Linked DNA regions of Homo sapiens: region 2 is linked to region 1. The links are contacts of gene promoters, found by promoter capture Hi-C in blood cells and fetal thymus (Javierre and others, 2016). All regions are on one chromosome and are shown on one strand. Each heading gives the region's core, a stretch centred on a gene start or on the middle of the fragment in contact. The rest is flanking DNA. Distances are from core to core; before and after follow the strand shown.

Region 1 (5,181 bases), core at 2,119-4,618:
GTAACCAGCCATCCCATTTCATTTGGCTAAGGACAAGCTGAAGACAGGAAAGCAACGCTGGGAAAACAATGACGCCCCAGTATTCTCTGACTTAAGACAGCTTCCTGCAGGTGCACTGCTGCATGGAAATTCTAGCATATTCTAACCAGAAGTGGCCTCGGTGGCCACACGGTCCAACCTCCTTACTTTCAATAGGAGAAGGAAGCCCAGGACAAGGAGATGCCACCAATCCCCTGGGCAGCTTCTGGTGCATAAAACCCTCACCCGGGCAAGGAGCACCGTGGGCCCTGTCCTCCAGCCCTCGCAGAGCCTGGCTGCTGGCACATGACTCTCCTTGTTTCCTTTTTAAAAATACCTCTCTGTTCCTAAACTCTACTCTTGAGGGAGATGACAGAGGTGCCGAGGTCTGAGGCAGGCAAGGCTCAATGCACGCACCACTCGCAGTACCCCCCCCGCCCCCAGAAGAGCCTCCACACCTCCAGGGTCATGAAGTGCTAGCAGAACCTCCAGCCCCCAGGGAAAGCCTGTATTTCAGAAAAGGGGCCCTGGTAATTATCTGGGCAAACATCATCTCATTGGGGCCTGGAAGGCAACCTCCTCAACACAGTTCTGATTAGTACCAGGCAAAGTTCATACTCTTAAGTGCTGGTCCTTAACCTGAAATCTCCTAAAAGGACAATGAAGTGTTGCATGGATCTCCTCCGCTGAAATATTAACCTGTGCACTGACTGCTGTGATCCTGTGCGTCGCCAAGGGCCATACCCCCACCCCCTCCAATACCAAGCAGGTAACCGCCAGCTCCTAGTGCCCAGAGAGAGCTAACATTTTGGTGGATGGAGAAGGCTGTCCCACCTTCTCTGTTTTCTTTCTTCCACGATGTCATCCAAGCCACCCATGGGTTTTACACTCTTCTTATCTCAGGTGTTTCTGCTCTAACCAAAACCACAATCTCTCTCAACAGTTAGGACACCGTCTTAGATCCAGAGAAGCGCACCAGCCTCTGAAGTGGGCCAAGCCATTCCCCCACCCCAAGGCTCACAGCACCCAGACAGGAACTAACAGAAGACGATGGGTTGCTGTTACGATTTTCCAAAGGGATTTAAGCAAGCACAGGCTCTTCTTTTTGCTCGCCCCACCAGAAAACTCTATTTCCCCATTATCATGACCCCTCTGGGAAGACCCAATATGTCCCGCTACAGTGGAAAAAAGGGAATGCACCTTTTGCTACCAGAGAACAAACCGTCCAGATTGACCCTGGCTGGGAAAGACTCCAGCAACCAATTCTTCTGCCTCTATCCACAGGGCAAGTCCAGCCAGGGGATCCAGGGGGAGCCGTCAGTGAAACCACCCCCCATCTTGCCATTGCTTGAACAGTACTCCCTGGCCCTTCATGCCAGGTGGGCACATCCACTGCCCTCTCCTCACCACCCCTTGCCCTTGAACATCTCAAGGAGGCCTATCTCTTAACCTAAACTTCCTACCTAAAAATAGAAATGACATCTAGAATTACAGAAACAAGTCTGGCCCAATCCGGCCTCATGGTGCTACTTGGTACTGTATGCTGCAGGCCAGAGCAAAATAAATGTTTCTTTCTTGAGAGAGACATCACAATAGGCACAACTGCGTGCTGTGTGTTCCAGCTCCCTCTCTGAGCCTTCTTGCCTGATGGCACACGCGTGCAGGGCTGGAAGGGCAGACCTGCGTCACTGTGGCAAACCTGCTCTCCTGGTTTTCTGTTAGCGCCATGTGCAAATTACTCAGCAGAAAAGGCCAAGAGAAGCTATAACATCTTTATCTGAAGCAACTGAAAAAGTTGGTTTTTGCAAGTATGGCTGTCGGAAACACCAAAGCAGCACTTACTTAGGTTCTTCTCAGGGATGGATACAGGCTGGCTAGGAGAAGGTGGGAGAGGGGCTGGCTGGGGACTTTTACAGCCAGCCACAGAGATGGCCCTGGACACAATCTTGCTAAGGGACCTCAGACCACAGCCCCAGCTCCAGCCTCCCGGCAGGCGAGCAGCGCCCAGCACGACTCCAACCAGCCACCGTCCCTCCCCCACACCCTCCCCAGTGCTGTCAGCGTCCTCACTTCTTCTGGAAGGCCAGGAGCAGCCTCGGGTCCAGGATGTTCTCCTCCGGCTCCCAGCTGTTATGTCTGCAAAGCAGAGGACAGGGCAGCATTAGACGCCAGGCTGATGATCACCGCTTTGCAAGGCAGCCCGAGGGGGCTCGCCCTCACCGCTCCTCGACTTGGGCCGATGGCAGTGGCACCGTAGCACCATGGCACTTCTCAAAGTCCAAACCCAGGTTTTGGAGGCTGGCCACCCCCCACCAAGCCAGCACTCTAACCTCAGACCCAAAGGGAAACTGCCGCTCCAACCCCCCAATTAAAACAAGGCCACAAGAGGACTCCCACAGTCTCTGCCTGGGAGAAAAACAAACCCCCATAAAACGCAAAGTTGCAGAGAGGGATTCCCCCAAACCCTGGCCCGGAGCCAGAGGAGGAAGGGAAGGCAGGTCCAGCATGCAGGGAGGGGCACAGGCGCCCAGCCCGAGATCCAGAACAATGTGGCGCGCGGGCCGGGGCACCTCGAGGGGTAGCGAAGAAAGAGCGGGGTCCGGGAAGACGCAGAAACGGGGCCGCGGGAGCAGCTGTGCAGAGAGCCCCTTCCGGGGATGCCAAACACCCTCCCTTCCATTAAAAGAAAGAAAAAAAAAAAGAAACTCTACATCCATCAATAGCAAGCTCAGGTTACAGCGGGGAGAATCTGGCCAAGAGGAGGGGGGCTTGCATCCCGCGCCTCCCTCCCGGCCGGGACGGGGGTTGGGGGGAGCGCGGCGCGGCAGCCGAGGAGGTTCTGGCGCGGGGGGCCGCCCAGCTCTGCACCCGCGGGCGTGTAAACAAAGGGCAACCTCGGGCCGGGCGGCCCCCGCCCCCCTCAGAGCCGGAGGAGCCCGCGGGGACCCCGCGAACTTCCCGCTCTGCCCGCGGGCGCCCCCAGGCCACCGGACGGCGCGGCCGAGGGGCTCCACGTCCCCACCCCCGGGCGAGGGGGCGGGAGGGGGGCGCGGCGTCGCGGGGGACTCACTTGGAGGACCAGCCGCGCCACTTGACCAGGTACTCCAGCTTGCCCTGCGGGGAGAGAAGAGGGGCCGTGAGCCAGACGGACAGCGGGCGGCGGGCGGGGGGCCCGGCGGGCCGCACGCACCTTGCGGAGCCGCTTGCTCAGGATGCACTCGGCGGCGAAGACCTGCTCGCCCACGCTGCTCAGCTCCTCCATGCTGCCCGGCAGCCAGCCCGACCGCGGCGCCCGCCGCCAGTCACCCGCCCGGACCGCCGCGCGCCCCGCCGGCAGCACACAAAGCACCGCCCCCGCCCGGCGCCGGCCCGCCCCGCGCACGCGCACCGCCGCTCCGCGCCCGCGCCCCGGCCCGCCGCCCGCCCCCGCGCGCTGCCCAAATCCCGTGCGGGCCAATCAGCGAGGGGGGGCGGGTGCGGGGCGGGGCGGGGCGCGCATTGTCCGCGGCGGGCTGGGCCTCGCGCTCCGGCGGGGGGTCCCGCGCGGGGCCCCGGGCGGGGGCGGGGGCGGGGGTGGGGGCGCGGGCGGGCCCCTGGCTGGGGGAGGAGGTGCCTAGGGACTTCGGGCCTGGGGCGCCCACCGAGTCCCGCGTGATTCCCGGGGCGCGCCCGCCCTTGCTCCCAACTCCGTTTTCCGGGCAAAAAGCCATTGTTCTGGCCCGAAGGGAGGGAAGCGGGACGGGGCGCGGCGGCTGCTTCCTGCCCCCGCCTTCGAGGGGCGCTGCTCCGGGGCACGCGGGGCCCCACCCTTCCCCCGGCTTCTTGAACTGGCTTTTCCTCGGCAGCGGGGGAGTCGCTCTGTTTTGGACGAGAGCAAAACGGGTCGGGGGCTGGGGAAGGAAAGGAAGACGAAGTCCGGGGGAGGGGCCCACAAACCCCAGCAGCCGAGGCTTTTTCCCCCAAAGGCGAGAGAGGAAAATGCTTTAACTTAAACCACCAAGCACTCTGAGAAAGAAGTAATACGAACTGCCCGGAGTTCTTATTAAACAGCTATGAAAAGTGGATCCAGCCCCCGAGTTTTAGGGCACGTGTAGGGAGAAAACCAGCTGCACCTTTTCTGAATTTGTTCCCCGATTTTGATGAAATGGAGGGGGAGGGGGCGGTTTGCAAGGCTGTTCCTAACTTCGGACTAGGTCAGTAGTGGCCCGCCAGGGCTGGGCAGCCGGCGTCCTTCGGATCAATTGTCCGCGGCAGAAAAGGGTCAGGCCATGTTATGAAAGTGGGGGTGACCCCTTGTCCTCCCTGTGATCGTCGTCAGCAGGCTACCCTTTTATTCCGGTGTTAAGATTCGAATTCCATGAAGAATCACCCTTTAAGTTATTTAGATTTTGAATCAGGACAAGTCAAACACGTAATGAAAGAGACCTGAGCCTTAGCTTCATTCGTCTCAACGCAGTCTAACTCCATGAAAATTCACTCTCTGCTTTTCTTGCTTCCTTGAACACAGCTGCAAAATTCTCTTTCTGTTGAGCAGATCCAAAAGTCGTTTCTTGTTGTAGGAGACTGTCTCAATGTAATTGTGATCATCAAAACCATATTTATAAAGGGTTCTGCAGGAGAAATGTGTTTTTTTGTTTTTACAGAAAGGCCTACTGGAGAAAATACTGAACTGTAGGAACCGATCTTTCAATTTATGGCGTGTTCTTCAGTTTCTTTGGTTAGATAGGTTACATTCATTTGATTTCCTGGAGAGTACGTGCAAATTCAGATGTTGTTTGCAAAGAGGGCAGGAGAAAGGGAAATGTCCTTGGGGGGAAGGTGTTTGTTTACTCAGGGGCAGAGGCAGTAAAGAATCCTTGTGTTGGGATAAAACTGGCCTCTGGAGTGAAGGGATCCGCTAACAGTGTCTCCGCCGGCTCCTTTTGTATCCCTGTCTTGTGCAGCTTGGCAGTAAATTGTGGAGTTGAGGGCAAAGGTGTATTTATTGTAATCCTACAAATAGCTGGATCAGTTTCACATCACGTTTCCTTGCAGAATTCATCTTGGGTCTAAGATTTTGCCCTGGAAGTTTCCAGTTTCCTCTTTGACTCATGGTATGCTGGGATACTTGCTTGATTTCTTTTTAAAGAAAAGAAGGCTTTGAAAAGGGAATGATTTCTTTGC
Region 2 (5,594 bases), core at 887-3,386, 1.6 Mb before region 1:
TGGCGGGCTCCGCACTCGGAGCAGCCGGCCGGCCCTGCCAGCCCCGGGCAATGAGGGGCTTAGCACCCGGGCCAGCGGCTGCGGAGGGTGTGCTGGGTCCCCCAACAGTGCCGGCGCACCGGCGCTGCGCTGGATTTCTCGCCAGGCCTTAGCTGCCTTCCCGTGGGGCAGAGCTGGGACCTACAGCCTGCCATGCCTGAGCCTCCCGTCCCCGCCCCGCGCCCCCCACCCGTGGGCTCCTGTGCAGCCCGAGCCTCCCCGACGAGCGCCACCCCCTGCTCCACGGCGCCCAGTCCCATCGACCACCCAGGGGCTGAGGAGCGTGGGCGCACGGCGCGGGATTGGCAGGCAGCTCCACCTGCAGCCCCAGTGCGAGATCCACTGGGTGAAGCCAGCTAGGCTCCTGAGTCTAGTGGGAACTTGAAGAACTTTATGTCTAGCTAAGGGATTGTAAATACACCAATCGGCACTCTGTATCTAGTCCAAGTTTTGTAAACACACCAATCAGCACCCTGTGTCTAGCTCAGGGTTTGTGAATGCACCAATCGACACTCTGTATCTAGCTACTCTGGTGGGGCCTTGGAGAACCTTTGTGTAGACACTCTGTATCTAGCTAATCGGGTGGGGACGTGGAGAACCTTTGTGTCTAGCTCAGGGATTGTAAACACACCAATCAGTGCCCTGTCAAAACAGACCACTGGGCTCTACCAATCAGCAGGATGTGGGTGGGGCCAGATAAGAGAATAAAAGCAGGCTGCCCGAGCCAGCAGTGCCAACCTGTTCTGGTCTGCTTACACGCTGTGGAAGCTTTGTTCTTTCGCTTTTTGCAATAAATCTTGCTACTGCTCACGCTTTGGGTCCACACTGCCTTTATGAGCTGTAACACTCACCCCGAAGGTCTGCAGCTTCACTCTTGAAGCCAGCGAGACCACGAGCCCACCGGGAGGAAGGACAACTCCAGACGCGCTGCCTTAAGAGCCGTAACACTCACCGCGAAGGTCCGCAGCTTCACTCCTGAGCCAGCGAGACCACGAACCCACCAGAAGGAAGAAACTCCGAACGCATCTGAATATCAGAAGGAACAAACTCCAGACACGCCGCCTTTAAGAACTGTAACACTCACCGTGACGGTCCACGGCTTCATTCTTGAAGTCAGTGAGACCAAGAACCCACCAATTCCAGATACAGGATTACAAGTGTGAGCCACCGTGCCCGGCCTCTATTTATTTTTTATAATTTTTGAGACAGAGTCTTACTTTGTTGTCCAGGTTGGAGTGCAATGACGCAGTCCTGGCTCACTGCAACTTCTGCCTCCCGGATTCAAGTGATTCTCCTGCCTCAGCCTCCTGAGTAGCTGGGATTACAGGCACCCGCCACCACGCCCAGCTCATTTTTGTATTTTTAGTAGGGACAGGGTTTCACCATGTTGGTCAAGCTGGTCTCAAATGCCTGACCTCAAGCAATCCACCCGCCTTGGCCTCCCAAAATGCTGGGATTACAGGCGCGAGCCACTGTGCCCAGCCCCAAAGCTTATTTTTATTTGTTCACATGAATGCAGTTTTCTTGGTTATTATTTCTGAATCTTCTTGTAAATTTTTGAATACTACCTAAAATTATGAGGAAGGAAGCAAAAATCTGAGTTCACTTCCCCAGATTCTTTTTTTAAAGAACAAAATCTCTTTTCTCTCTGAAGCTATTACTGGTGTTTTTGAACACTGTGTGTTCTGAAACTCTTGCTCAGTGCAAGTTACACAACTGTAGCAAATAGACCCCAAACGTAGCTGCCCATGCCAGCCCGCGGCTTATTTATCCCTGACCTGCCCAAGCAAGTGCTCCTGCGGGGTGGGGCCTGGTTGGGCCCCAGGCTGAAGGCTGCCCTGTCATCTTGCACATTTGTCTTCCACAGTCTCTCTGATGTGCCCATTTCAGCCATCAGAAGGGGGAACCCTAAAAGCCTCCTGGAAGGGTGACCTGCTCCTGAAACTGGTGCACACTGCTTCTGCCAGATTCTGTTGGACACCACGGTTACCCAGCCACACCTACTGCGAGGGAGCCTGGGAATGCAGACCAGCCAGGGGCCCCATGAGAAGGGGTAACGGCTTCTGTTGGACAGCCGGACGGCAGCCAGCCAGCCCTTGGCCTCCAGACATCTGTGAGACCCACCCTTCCTCCACACATCGTGTTAGAAAAAGTCACCATCATCTCCAGGGAGAAGACCCAGCCCAAAGCCTGCCTCTCTAGGATGGGCAGAGCCTTTCCGTGGGTCCCGATGACTGTCTTCCGGGTCCAACTGACAGATGATTCATTAAGCCATCTGCTCCCCTCCCCCCGCAACCTGAGCCTTCATCTGATCTTTGCCGTAGGCCTGCACACTTTTGTTGGACTGAGCTGCCTGAGTGACAGGCCTTGAACAGCCACCATCTTTTCTCCTACTGTTTGAGGCATAAACAGTGGCTTTTTCAACCTGGGAGTCCCAACTTTCTGGGGTAACTCTAATTGCAAACCGGCCCTCAATTTCTGGAAACAGTAGTCAAGCTACAGGGAATGAGTGCCTCGCGCTAACCTTCTGGCTCTTTCCTCCCTCTTCCCAGCGTTCCCAAGCCTTTACCTCGGCACACCAGGGGACGTGTGGCATCATCTTCAATTCACCACATCCGTTTCCCTGTATCCCCAAGTGCCAGGGCAGGTGTATCAGTCGGCTTTTGCCACAACAGTGCTGCATAACGACGACCTTAAAGCTTGGTGGCCGAGTCTCACGCTCACAGGGCTAGGGCCGACCTCCACCTGGCCAAGCCCCTGGCCTCCGGGTTCTGGGATGTGGGCTGGGCTGAGGTCCGCCCAGGTTTCTCGCTTCTTGGAGCCCCCGTCAGTTATCTGCGTTCTCCATTCTTCTCTGGGGCACAGCCTGCTTGTAGTGGGTCCCTGGCAAGCAGGAAGACCAGGCTGCCCTTGCTGGCACATTCCAAACCTTTGCCCATTTCAAATCTGCTACCTTCCCACTAGCCAGAGCACGTCACTCGCCAAGCCCAAAGTCAAGGGAGGAGAGCCCACCCACCACCTAGAGACCACAGCAAGCAGACGGATGTAAAATTCTGCTACGGGGGAGTGAAAAACCAATGATTAAATTGCTAATTGAATTGTAAGTTAAACTGCTCTGAGGCATAGACGCTGGTGTAAATGCCTAAACAAAAGAGAAGTGGATTTCTCTCTTGACAACCATGGCAGGGTTTCCGTTTGACAATGGCCTTGATTCTTGCAGTCACTCAGAGCCCTAGGCTGAGGGTGACTCTGCTGTCCTCAAGCGAAGCTTCCTGTGTCACCCTGGTTGTTGCCAGGCCCTGGGAAAGGAAAAGTTAATGGAGGGCCTTTTGGGCCAGTCACAGGAGAGGCACACGTCACTGCTGTCACCTCCACTGCAGGTGGCCACCTGGCCACACCCCTTGCCAGGGAACCTGGCAGATTCAGTCTAGCCCAGGCCAAGGAGGAGGGGCACCCAATCTCGCTGTACAGCGCCGGCTCTGCGCTAGTTAGTTCGCTCGTGTTAGTTCTTCAGTTTGTGGTGCGTCCTTGGGGTTGGTGATCCCAGCTTTGTGTGGGATCCCTGCTTGTCCATCAGCAGCACGTGGTCAGACACCTCAACTGTGGCTGACGGCTCAGAGCCCACGACTCCCCGCTCCCTCCAGGTGTTATTCCACAATGGGATCTCTTCTCTGTCCACTGCCTGTGCTGAGTGTACTCAGCCAAGGGTGAGGCTGCCCTCCCACAGACACCCCAGCCATCCCCCTCCCACTGTCCCAGGGCCCCTTGGCTCCTCTGGGAGCTGCCATCACCTGCCAGCAGGTTTCACTTCTGGGCACCAAGGCTGTCATTTCTTCCCTCCAGCGAGAGCAACGTCCCCACCCCCATCTCCCCAGGACTCCTCCAGATTTCTGGGCCACGGAGGGCACCCATCTTGTCCCTGCTGGTTGTAATGGACTTACAGTTTTTTTTTCTTTGTTTTTTTGGAGATGGAGTTTCACTCTCGTTGTTGCCCAGGCTGGAGTGCAATGGCGCAATCTCGGCTCACCACAGCCTCTACCTCCTGGGTTCAAGCGATTCTCCTGCCTCAGCCTCCTGAATAGTTGGGACTACAGGCATTCGCCACCAAGGCTGGCTAATTTTGTATTTTTAGTAGAGATGGGGTTTCTCCATGTTGGTCAGGCTGGTCCTGAACTCCTGACCTCAGGTGATCTGCCTGCCTCAGACTCCCAAAGTGCTGTGCTGGGATTACAGGCATGAGCCACTGTGCCTGGCCTCAGTTTTTTTTTTTTTTTTTGTCATCTCCAGGGACTGGAAACAGGAGAGGAGGGTGTCAGGAGGAACTGTATGGAGGGCTACCTTGATTAAATCCCTTCTCAGCCTCTAAACCCATTCAGGTCTCTGGCCTTGGCTGCTTAATCCCTGGGAGCCACACCATTAAGGCCATATTGATCTGGGTCTGTGGGCTGCAACCAGGGCTGGAGGAGGTCAGGATGCTAGGAGGTCCTCCCTGAGTCCCCCAGACCCTGGGGCTGCTGTGGGCCTCAGGGGACACAGCAGAGTGCCCGCCTCAGAATTCTGGTGACCCCTGGAGTGGGGAACCCCAGGGTGGAGTCTTAAAAGTTGCTGTCTAGTGGCTTTGGCAACAACAGTTGAGGGATCGTGGCTTTGGTGACAACAGTGCCAGGGACCTGAGGACTGAGAAGGCCCATGCTGGCCCGGCAGGACTCCAGCAGATCCTGGGATGTTTGTGACAAGACTGTGTTCCCTGGTGCTGGCTCCTCTGCCATGCTGTGCCTTATTTATGCCCAGGGCTCCACTTACCCTGCAGGGATGGACTGGACCCTGCAGGGAGAGGCCCTTTGAAATCTCACGGCCAGGGGCTGCTTTGCCTCTGTTTTTATTCTAGTTTGTGATTTCACTTTGACAAGGTTTGGAAACTTAGGAAAATGTGAGAAGCACGTTCCCTGAGGCCTGGGACTGCTGACACCCATATGTGCCTCCTTCTCAGTGAATTAAGACTGTGTCTATTACTTTTAAAGAAGATGCAGGACACAGCGGACCAAAGTCCTCCACCTAGAAACAGACAACCCGCTTTACATGTTTCTGTTACAGAGAAAGCGACACTCACCAGCTCTTTGGCATCCCAAAGGCAGTTTTGTCACTTTTTCCCCTGCCGTGGTGAAGGCAATCGGGGTAACAAGATAAGAAGGTCCAGGCATTCTCCACCCTTGCTGCCCTACAGGGCCTGACTGAGGGCACAGGAGGCCCTTCCCTCACCCCCTGCTCCAGGGGAGATGTGCGCTCCAGCCTGGAAGAAGACCCCCTCTGGGGAGGGCGCGGGGCACAGGCCAAGCCGCCTGGCTGTGCTCCGCTCCAGATTTCAGTGCCTGGGCCCTGGTGCGGGTGTCCTGGCATTTCCCCTCAATGCGACCCAGCTCAGGGGACAGGGGTCACTCCTCCATTCGGGGTAAGCCTGGGGCAGCGGACGCCAATCCCACGAACCCTGCCCGGGCTGGGGGCCTGGGACGCTTTCCCTGGACTCCAGGATCCGTTTGTACGGAGTCACAGAACAC

Evidence for each region. Contacts are between HindIII fragments. The CHiCAGO score rates a contact against its expected background, and 5 or more counts as called.
Region 2: a fragment that was not itself captured here is called in contact with the fragment with the promoter of CBX2 in region 1 in 1 of 17 cell types (total B cells); the score reaches 5.4 in total B cells.

The regions. Positions count from the first base shown.
Region 1 is chr17:79,776,335-79,781,515 of GRCh38, reverse strand. It overlaps CBX2 (chromobox 2), which reads right to left and starts at 3,368. Exons shown (of 5, transcript NM_005189.3): 1 at 3,209-3,368; 2 at 3,089-3,132; 3 at 2,089-2,154. The coding sequence starts at 3,280. RefSeq lists an enhancer at 2,115-2,708 and silencers at 3,104-3,173, 3,184-3,563. The HindIII fragment of the contact is 13,003 bases long and covers 1-5,181 here.
Region 2 is chr17:81,346,763-81,352,356 of GRCh38, reverse strand. No RefSeq gene overlaps it. Among named protein-coding and RNA genes, the nearest start is that of RENO1, 3.6 kb to the right of the region's middle. RefSeq lists an enhancer at 3,419-4,056. The HindIII fragment of the contact is 1,209 bases long and covers 1,532-2,740 here.